3 separate regions of the Homo sapiens genome follow, and all the other regions are linked to region 1. The links are contacts of gene promoters, found by promoter capture Hi-C in blood cells and fetal thymus (Javierre and others, 2016). All regions are on one chromosome and are shown on one strand. Each heading gives the region's core, a stretch centred on a gene start or on the middle of the fragment in contact. The rest is flanking DNA. Distances are from core to core; before and after follow the strand shown. Region 1 holds the start of LRRC4 (leucine rich repeat containing 4). Region 2 overlaps SND1 (staphylococcal nuclease and tudor domain containing 1). Region 3 has its middle 21 kb from the start of MIR129-1.

The links. The method cuts DNA at HindIII sites, captures the fragments that hold promoters and counts their contacts. A CHiCAGO score of 5 or more calls a contact.
Region 2: a contact is called between a fragment that was not itself captured here and the fragment with the promoter of LRRC4 in region 1, in 1 of 17 cell types (neutrophils). The highest score is 8.6, in neutrophils.
Region 3: a fragment that was not itself captured here is called in contact with the fragment with the promoter of LRRC4 in region 1 in 1 of 17 cell types (M2 macrophages); the score reaches 6.8 in M2 macrophages.

What each region holds. Positions count from the first base shown.
Region 1 is chr7:128,030,027-128,033,044 of GRCh38, forward strand. It overlaps LRRC4 (leucine rich repeat containing 4), which reads right to left and starts at 1,411. Exons shown (of 2, transcript NM_022143.5): 1 at 887-1,411; 2 at 1-714. The coding sequence starts at 614. The region is part of intron 16 of SND1 (staphylococcal nuclease and tudor domain containing 1); the gene reads left to right. RefSeq lists silencers at 1,855-1,974, 2,625-2,694. The HindIII fragment of the contact is 11,709 bases long and covers 927-3,018 here.
Region 2 is chr7:127,866,097-127,869,114 of GRCh38, forward strand. All of the region lies in intron 12 of SND1 (staphylococcal nuclease and tudor domain containing 1), which reads left to right. Among named protein-coding and RNA genes, the nearest start is that of SND1-IT1, 130 kb to the right of the region's middle. The HindIII fragment of the contact is 5,508 bases long and covers 1-3,018 here.
Region 3 is chr7:128,185,267-128,188,284 of GRCh38, forward strand. No RefSeq gene overlaps it. Among named protein-coding and RNA genes, the nearest start is that of MIR129-1, 21 kb to the right of the region's middle. The HindIII fragment of the contact is 2,948 bases long and covers 74-3,018 here.

The DNA.
Region 1 (3,018 bases), core at 161-2,660:
ATGCCCAAGTTCAGATACTTGAGGTTGAACAGCCCCTCAAAAGCTCCCTCAGAGATATACTCCAGCTTCTTGAGCTCCCCCAAGTCCAGGCGCATGAGGGAGGGCACCCGGTTGAAGGCGTAAGAGGGGATGCTTTCGATGGGGTTGTTGCGAAGCCAGAGCTCCCGCAGCTTGGACAGGTATTCAAAGGCCCCGCTAGGGATGACTGTCAGCCAGTTGTCGAACAGCTCCAGGGTGTTGAGGCTGGCCAGGCCGTTGAAGGCCCCCACCTCAATCTGCCGGATGGAGTTCCTGCCCAACTGCAGGACCTCCAGGTGGTGGAGGTGGCGGAAGGTGTCGGCCTGGATCATCTGGATGTTGTTCTCCATGAGGTTGAGGTACCGGGTGTTCGAGGGAATACCCTGCGGGACCTCGGAGAGGCCCCGGCGCGTGCACACCACCTTGCTGAACTGGTTACTGCACGAGCAGACGGAGGGGCAGTTCTGGGGCCCGGCTGAGGCGGCAGCAGCGATGGCTGCACACAGAATCCACACTTGCGCCGTGAGGTAGACGAACGGGAGCAGGATGGCATTCCAGGTGTGGTGGTGCACAGTTACCTGCCACAAGAGCTTCATGGTGTGGCACGTTCATAATTCACCATCGCCTGGGATTTTGGCTCGGAAAGGAGAACCAGCCCTACCCCGGCTTAAGTGAGCTAGGAGCTCCTCTTTCCATCTGGAGAAGGAGGTGGGGAGGGGGCGATTAGAGAGACGGAGCGGATCGGCCGAAAAAAATCCTGCCAAACTCGAGCGGCCCCTGGTCTCCCAACCCACCCTCAAGGCAAGCCCTCCGAAAGCTACGACTCTCCCACACTGCAACCGTCCCCACCCAGTTCGCCGTCACCTACCTCGGAAGGAAGGCAGGAAAGCACTGGCGTGGTGTCCTTAAGCTTTCTCCACGGGAGCTGGGCACCTCGTTCCCATTCCGACTTCTTAGTTTTAATTAACAAAAGGGGGAAGTGGTGGGGGCGGGGAGGGCAGAGGGGAGGGGAGGGGAGGGGAGGGAAGGGGTGGGGGAGACAAAATGGCCTCTAGTAAATCCGGAGCCGGAGCCGGCGAAGCCGCGGAGTTGAGGCGCGCCTGGGAGAGCCAAGGCCCGGCGGGCTATGCAGGTGCATGCCCCCCCCTCCGCCCAAGGAGCGGCGCCACCAGCGCTTCCCGGCTTTGTCCTTGGACCCTGGCACCGGCTCGCTCCAGCCGCGGGGGAAGGCGCTTCATCGCCAAAGTGCGCTCCGGCGGCCCCGGCCCGCTCTGCGGGCCGCCGCCGGAGGGAGTGCGGGGGCGCCCCGAAGCCGCCCAGGCCGCACTCGCTGGATGCTGCGCTCCCTCTCCCGGCGTCGGCCGCTCCGGGCCGGCGGCAGCTGATTGCGGTCGTGAGCTCGCGGAGCGGCGAGAGTTAAGAGGAGGTGTTCGCGGCGCCTTCGCCCTCCCCAGACACACACCCCCTTTCTCCTCGCCTCTTCTCGGAGGGTGGAAGAGACAAAAACGGGGGGTCAGTTCTCCAGTCCGCCGGCTGCCGGCACGCGGGGCGGCGCTCCGTCCGGCCCCCGAGGACCAGCGGCGTGGCGGCTGCGCTCGGACCCGGTCCGCCGGCCGGAGGAGCGCGCGGCGCCCGCGGTCGCGCCCGCACCGCAGGCCCCTTCAGAGAGTCCGGGGGCGGGCGCGGGTCCGGCGGCGGCGGCGGCCGCAGCCCCCGGCGGCGCGCAACCGCCCGTCGCCGCCCGCCGCTGCCCGGCCCCCGGCGCGCCGCCGGCTCCGGCTTTGTGCGGAGGGAGCGAGTTCGCGGCTTCGGCTCCCGGCGCCCTCAGTGGCCGCGCCGCCAGCGGACTGCTGCAGCGGCGTGAGCAGCGGGGGTCGCGGCTGCGGGAAACGCTCCGGAGCCCAGGAACATAGTCCCCGCTGGCTAGCGGCGGCAGCAGCAGCAGCGGGGCCCCTGCGCGCGGCGCCCACCGTCTCCTCCTCGCGCCGGGCTCGCGGTGTTGCAGGCGGCAGCCACGCAGACTGCTCTCTCATCCTTTTGTCCTTCAGTCAGAACGTGAATGTACTGCTGACGCATACTGTTCTGGGAGAAGATTAGCGTGATGCAGTGCTCTTATGTATTAGCGCCGCTCCCCCTCCGTCGCCTGCCTCGCGGGGTTAACGCCGGCGCCTTCCAGCGCCGCGCCGGCCGGCGCCGCGCAGCCCCGCGCCTCCGGCCGCCCGTCTTCCTCTTTCCTCCTTCCTTCCTCCTCTCTTCCTCTCTCCCCCTCCCCCCTCCCCCCTCCCCGGGCCGCTTCCTCCCCGCCCCCTCTAGACGAGCGGAGCGGGGCCAGGGCGAGCGGGCGAGCGAGCCGGAGTGAGCGTCAAGTGAGGGGCCGCGCGCAAGTCGCAGGCGTTCGCAGCTATTTTGGGCCGGTCGGAGGGAGCAGTTGGGTGGCCGCTGATAGGCTGGAGCGGCGCGGGGCTGCGGCGGGAGAGCCCGCGCCGGCCCCCGCCCTCCGGCCCGCACCCGGGGCCCCCTGGCTCTGAAGAGCGGGGCTCAGGGGCCCGGCGGCCCGCGGCGGGGCTGCTGCATTTGGCCTGCCTCTCGCCCGGCCCGCGTCATCCTCACCCCCGCTGACTGCTGACGGGGCGCGGACTCGCGTTCGGAGTTCGGAACTGCGTGGTGGGGACTCGGGGGACGGCGGCCGGGGCCACGAGGCTCCCAGGACCGAGAGCCCGGGCTTCGCTGCTGCACTGCCGCCAGCCCCTCCTTCGCTTTGCCTCACCCCTCCTGTGCTCTCACTGGGGCTTTAAATGAGGGTTTCCTTAATGAGGGTTGCGGGGGCGGGAAACAGTGGCAGGAATGACCAAGTGTGATGAGCTGGGGAATGGCAACCTGGGACAGCACAGAGGCCGGCAGGAAGGATTGAGGTGAACTCCCGGAGCCCACGACACAGCCCGTTCATTCATGGAGCTGCAGCCGCGGCTTCTCAGTCTTCGCTGGCCGGAGTCGCCCCTT
Region 2 (3,018 bases), core at 244-2,743, 160 kb before region 1:
TTTTTGGTACTCAACAAATTGGAGTCTTCTCCTGTCAGATGATTCTATTCCTTTTCATATCGGCCAGACATACTGAGCTCGAAGAGAAGCCAAGAACCTAGACAACTCATTTTGAAGAGCTGTCCAGGTTGATTGGACAACCATTAAAATGTATCACCACTTGTACAGGGAATATTCCAGATGTGCTTTAAGTAGGCATAGTCATTCATATTTAATGAGTTACTAAGTTGGATTATGAGCTATGGTTCAAGAAGCATATAGCATTTTGGATTGGGAAATCTAAAAGCTAGGGGCTGCCCATCAATAATAGCTTTGATTCCCACCAGGAGCTGAAATAATTAAAGGTGTTTGATGCTGCCTAGGTGTTCCTTGGGGTATTGAGAGAAAGCAATTTCATTAGGAAGGTAGTGATTTAGTTATTTATATGTTAAAGAATTCTGTTATCAGTTCTTTCCTTCTACTCTTGCCATCCCTCCACTCCATGCACTCAACAAGGCAGATCCAAGCATTTCGTACCTGCAGGTTTTCCCCCTCTTCAAATCTTGCTGCATAATACTCCTGGATTAATTTTCCATAAATGCTGTTTTAATGGTGCTATTTCACTACCATGGCTATTTTAGACTTTGACCGCTTTTGTCCACCAAGCCCCCCTACTTAACTATATCTCTTCCTATCACTGTCAGCAGTCTCATCTCTTACTTTATGGAGTAAATATAGGGTTATCAGGAAGATGCCTTTAACTTCTTGTTCTCTCAGCTTCCAGTTTGCCTTCCTTGTTATGCTTGCTTTCTTACCTCCTGCCTTCCCATCTCCGTAGACAGTTTCACCTTCTTCTTTCCAAACTAATTGTTCTGCCTACATGCTCTAGATTCCAGTTCTTTTGTTCTCCTTGGGATTTTGTGCTATTGGCTATTCTCTTTTTAACTAGTGTTATTTTTAATTGTCCTTCAGTCTTCTATCCTATTATATCTGCTTTTCTTCTTCTTGCCTTCTCTTCATAGCCAAGTTAATTAGAATAATTAAAAGACATTTTAATTCTGTCCCGTTTGCTATTCATTCCTTTCCCTTCTAGCTTTGAACCTTCCCCATCATTCACCAATGCTTCCCTGAAGGACACTTCTCAGTCTTTACTTTTACTTGACCTCTCTGGAGTATTTAATACTTATCTTTTAAAATCTTGTTTTCTTCTACCTTTTCAGTATACCACACTTTCGTGGATTTCCTTCTACAACTCTGATAACTTTTTCTCAGTCTGCTTTGAATGCTCCTTAAATATTTGTGCTTCCTAGGCTTCTGTCATTGTCCCTCTTCTTACCACTATTCAGTCTCTGGGTGATCTGATGGTGATGCTGCTGACTTCCCTTTCCCTGTCTCTAGCAGGCTTCCCACCTATATTCAACTGCTGTTCCTTTACTCAAATGATCGCGTCTTTTGATGGTGTCACCATTTACATAGTCTTTTAGTCTAGAGATCATGTTGTCGTCTTTATCTCCTCCTAACTCCCAGTATGTAATTACCTACTGGTATATCAGGTTCATCCTATCCTGGCTCTCCTCACTGCCTGGTTTATGCTGTCAGTGTAGAATAACTCAGCAGTTCTTTTTACTAGCCTCTCTATTTCTAGTCTTACTGCCCTCCAATCCATTTTCTACATTACTGCTTTAATTCTCTTTTTGAAACACACATCTGATTTTTAGAATCATTCCATAACCTTAGGAGTGGAGTATACTGAGCCATGACCTGGCCCCTCCCTACCTCTCCATGTTTATATTTACATTCCCTGGTTCTCATTCACCATTCCTTTAAAAAAAAAAAAATTAAATGCATTACTATTTAACTTAATCTGCTCTCTGCCTGGAACATACATTTCATCTGGTTAGCTCTTACTCATTCTTCAGTGCTTCATTTCTCAGGAAAGTTTTGCTGTAGGTACTCCGTCTAAAATCTGAATTGTGCATCTTGTGTGTGTCTTCCCCCAACACTTGGTGCTTACTTATAATAAGACTCATAGTAGGTCAGGCATGGTGGCTCACGCCTGTAATCCCAGCACTTTGAGAGACCAAGGTGGGTGAATCACTTGAGCCCAAGAGTTCAGGTCCAGCTTGGGCAACATGGTGAAACCCTTTCTCTACTTAAAAAATAGCCAGGTGTAGCAGCATGCGCCTATAGTCCCAGGTACTCAGGAGGCTGAGGTGGGAGGCTCACTTGAGCCAAGGAGGTGGAGGTTGCAGGTAACTGTGATTGCACCACTGCACTCCAGCCTGGGTGACAGAACCAGACACTGCCAACAACAACAAAAAGACTCATAGCACACACAGCACTAGGTGACAAATAACTATTTTATTCCCAGTATGTAATATCTTTTCTGCCTTATAGAGGGTATTTGACTTAACAAATGCTCGTGTCCTTTCCATGGCTCCCCATGGGGTATGTCTTTATTTCTAGGCTTGGCTAAGGTCCGAAACACAGATGATGCCTTCTGTGGCATCATTTAGAGCATTAGCTTTGTCTACCACCCTAGAGGTCCTTCAGGTCAAGTTAGTCCGCTTGGTATGATAGAACAGAAAATATGACTTAAAAGGTAAATGTCTTTCTCAAGTTTCATCTTACTAAAGCCAGACTTGGAATTTAAAATCTCATGTTTCCAAATGTAAGTAAAACTCAACCTCATTTGCATGTAATCTCCAAATTGCACCTGTTTTCTTAGGCCACATGAACATTATATGGTTGTTTTATTTTTTTTAACTTTAGTTTGTGGGTATTTTTTTTCCTCCATCTCTAGTCAACAGCTTATTTACTGAGTTGAGTACATGACGTTGCCAGGCGCCAGTTCTTTGCACTGGGGATAGATCAGTGCATATGATAGAGAGATCTATTTTGTGCGGCACTTTCGTTCCAATGGGGGCAATCAGATAAAGAAGCAGTAAAGATATATAGGTGATGAAAAGTGCTATAGAGAAAACTAAAGCTATGAAAGAGTTGAGGGAGGTATTCCAGGGTTACGAGGGGGAAATTTTT
Region 3 (3,018 bases), core at 298-2,797, 160 kb after region 1:
ATAAAGTTGTTAATTCTTCTAAATTATGCTTTACACTTAAATACCTAGATAACTCTTTTCTTGCAACCAGACAAGCTTATTCTTAAGTTTATACAGAAAAATAAATATGCACAAATATCCAGGAAGTTTTCTTTAAAAAAAAAAAACCCATGAGATGAGATCAGTTTCATCATATATGAAAACATAATTAAAATAGAGAAGTACGTAGGAATATTTGGTCAGATCAACAGAACAGAATGAAGAGCTCAGAAATAGACCCAAATTTATGTGGGAATTTAGTGTGTCGTAAAATGGCATCTCATATCAGAGGGGAAAAGACAGGTGGTGCAATATATAGGGCTGGGACAGCGGAAGATACATTAGGAGAAAAGATGATTCCCACATTACTCTTTACATCAAAATAATGGAGAAAATATTCAAGTTAAAGCTGAAGTCATAAAAGCACTAGAAGAAAACACGGAGCATAGACACACACCAACACCCCTGTACACACACACACACACACACACACACAAAGTCTTGGAGTAAAGAAAGACTCATGAAGCCATAACACACACAAAAATTAAATCAGCCGGGCATGGTGGCTCATGCCTGTAATCCTAGCACTCTGGGAGGCTGAGGCAGATAGACTACTTGAGGCTGGTAGACTGCTTGAGGCCAGGAGTTCAAGACCATCCTGGGCCACATGGTGAAACCTCGTCTCTACTAAAAATACCCAAAAAGTTAGCTGGGTGTGGTGGCATGTGCCTGTAATCCCAGCTACTCGGGAGGCTGAGGCAGGGGAATTGCTTGAACCCAGGAGGCCAAGGTTGCAGTGATCTGAGATTGAGCCACTGCATTCTAGCCTGGGTGACACAGCGAGACCCTGTCTCAAAAAAAAAATTAAATCAACTATATAAAAATGACTTACTTCTGCACTGGAAAAAAGCCACATATATAAGATCTTACATTATGATAAATTGAGAAGAGATATTTAGAAGCATACGTGGCAGACAAATGACTACTTTTTTCTATATAAATAATTTTGTATAGATACAGGGTACCTTTGAAAGGACACATACATGTATCCCCCCCTTAGGTATCTCTCCCTCCCTCCTTCCCTTTCCTCCCTTCCTTCCTTCCTCCCTCCCTTCCGGCCTTCCTTCCTCCTTTCCTCCCTTCCTCCTTTCCTCCCTTCCTCCCTTCCTCCCTTCTTCTCTTCCTTCCCTCAAATGAGGAGAAAACAGCATTCATGTTATCCCAGCACCTTTTCTTGAACAGCACCTTCTTTCCCTCACCAACTTGAAATGCCAATTGGATTTTATATTCTGCTCCTTTGATCTGTCTGTTTCCTCTGACACCAGAATTTTACTGCTGCAATTACTACAGATTTAAAATATACCTTTTTCATACTTGGTATGACAAGTGTGCCCTGTTCTAATTCAGTCTTTTTCCCCGACATTTTCTTATTAATTTCCTCATACTTATTCATCCAGATTAATGTGAGATTCATTTTATCAAATTCTACTCAAAACTCAATTGAGATTTTGATTGCAATTATGGGAAATGCATTAGGTGAATTTGGGCAAGACTGACATTTTTACAATATCAAGTCTCCTCATCTTGAAACAAAGTATGGCCTCCTCTTAATTCAAATTATTCAGTAAAGCATAAGGGCTTTTCTGTACGGGGTCTTGCACTCTTCTTGTTAAAATTCTTCCCTAATATTTTATATTTTAGTTGCTACTATGAATGAAATTCTCTTTCCCATTCTATTTTCAGGTTGGTTGTTGCCACTGTGTTCAAAAGCTAAGAAAATTATCTACATTTATTTTATAACTGCCTTATTGAACTCTCTTATTAATTATAAATTTCACTTGATCTTCAGATTTTCTGTGGAGTAAATCGGGTTTTTGACTCCCTCTTTATAATAATTAAATCACATTTTTTTTAAAAAAAGAAAAAGTCTCTTTTTTTTTGTTCTTTTTTAAGACAAAGTCTCAATCTGTCTCCCAGGCCGGAGTGTAGTGGCCCGATCTTGGCTCACTGCAACCATCGCCTCCTGGGTTCAAGCGATTCTCCTGCCTCAGCCTCCCGAGTAGCTGGAATTACAGGTGTGTGCCAGCACACTTGGCTAATTTTTGTATTTTTAGTAGAGACGGGGTTTCACCATGTTGGCCAGGCTGGTCTCGAACTCCCGAACTCAAGTGATCCTCATGCCTTGGCTTCCCAAAGTGCTGGGATACAGGAAGGGCCACCACACCCGGCCTTATTTTTCTTTTGACTAGAACTCACTTTCAAACAACATTTCATGACAGCGTTCATCAAGGAAATTCTTATGCATTCACAGGTCAGAGTTTTATCTTTAAGTATAATGTTAGCTCTTGGTTTAGATTTGTTCTTTATCCTGCTTTGGGATTATCTCTTTATTGCTAGTTTAGTAAGAATATTTTTTTTAAAAAAGTGTATTGGATTTTATCAAATGTCCTTTGGGCTTCTATCAAATGATGGTATGATTTTCTCCTTTCATCTATTCATGAGATAAATTGCATTAAGAGATTTCCCAAGGCTGGGCACAGTGGCTTACGCCTGTAATCTTAACACTTTGGGAGGCCAAGGCGGGCCGATCACCTGAGGTCGGGAGTTTGAGACCAGCCTGACCAACATGGAGAAACCCCGTCTCTAATAAAAATACCCAAAAAGTTAGCTGGGTGTGGTGGCACATGCCTGTAATCCCAGCTACTCGGGAGGCTGAGGTAGGAGAATCGCTTGAACCCGGGAGGCGGAGATTGTGGTGAGCCGAGATCGCACCATTGTACTCCACCCTGAGCAATAAGAGTGAAACTCCGTCTCAAAAATAAAAAAAAAAAAAAAGAGAGAGAGAGATTTCCCGATGTTGACAATTTTCAAATTCCTGGAAAAAAACTTTACTTTGTCATTATGTTATTATTTTTATTATTCTTCTGCTGAATTCTATTTGTAATATTTTATTTTTGTTCTCACTAATGTTGGTATCTGAGAATATAGATTGCTCTTCCA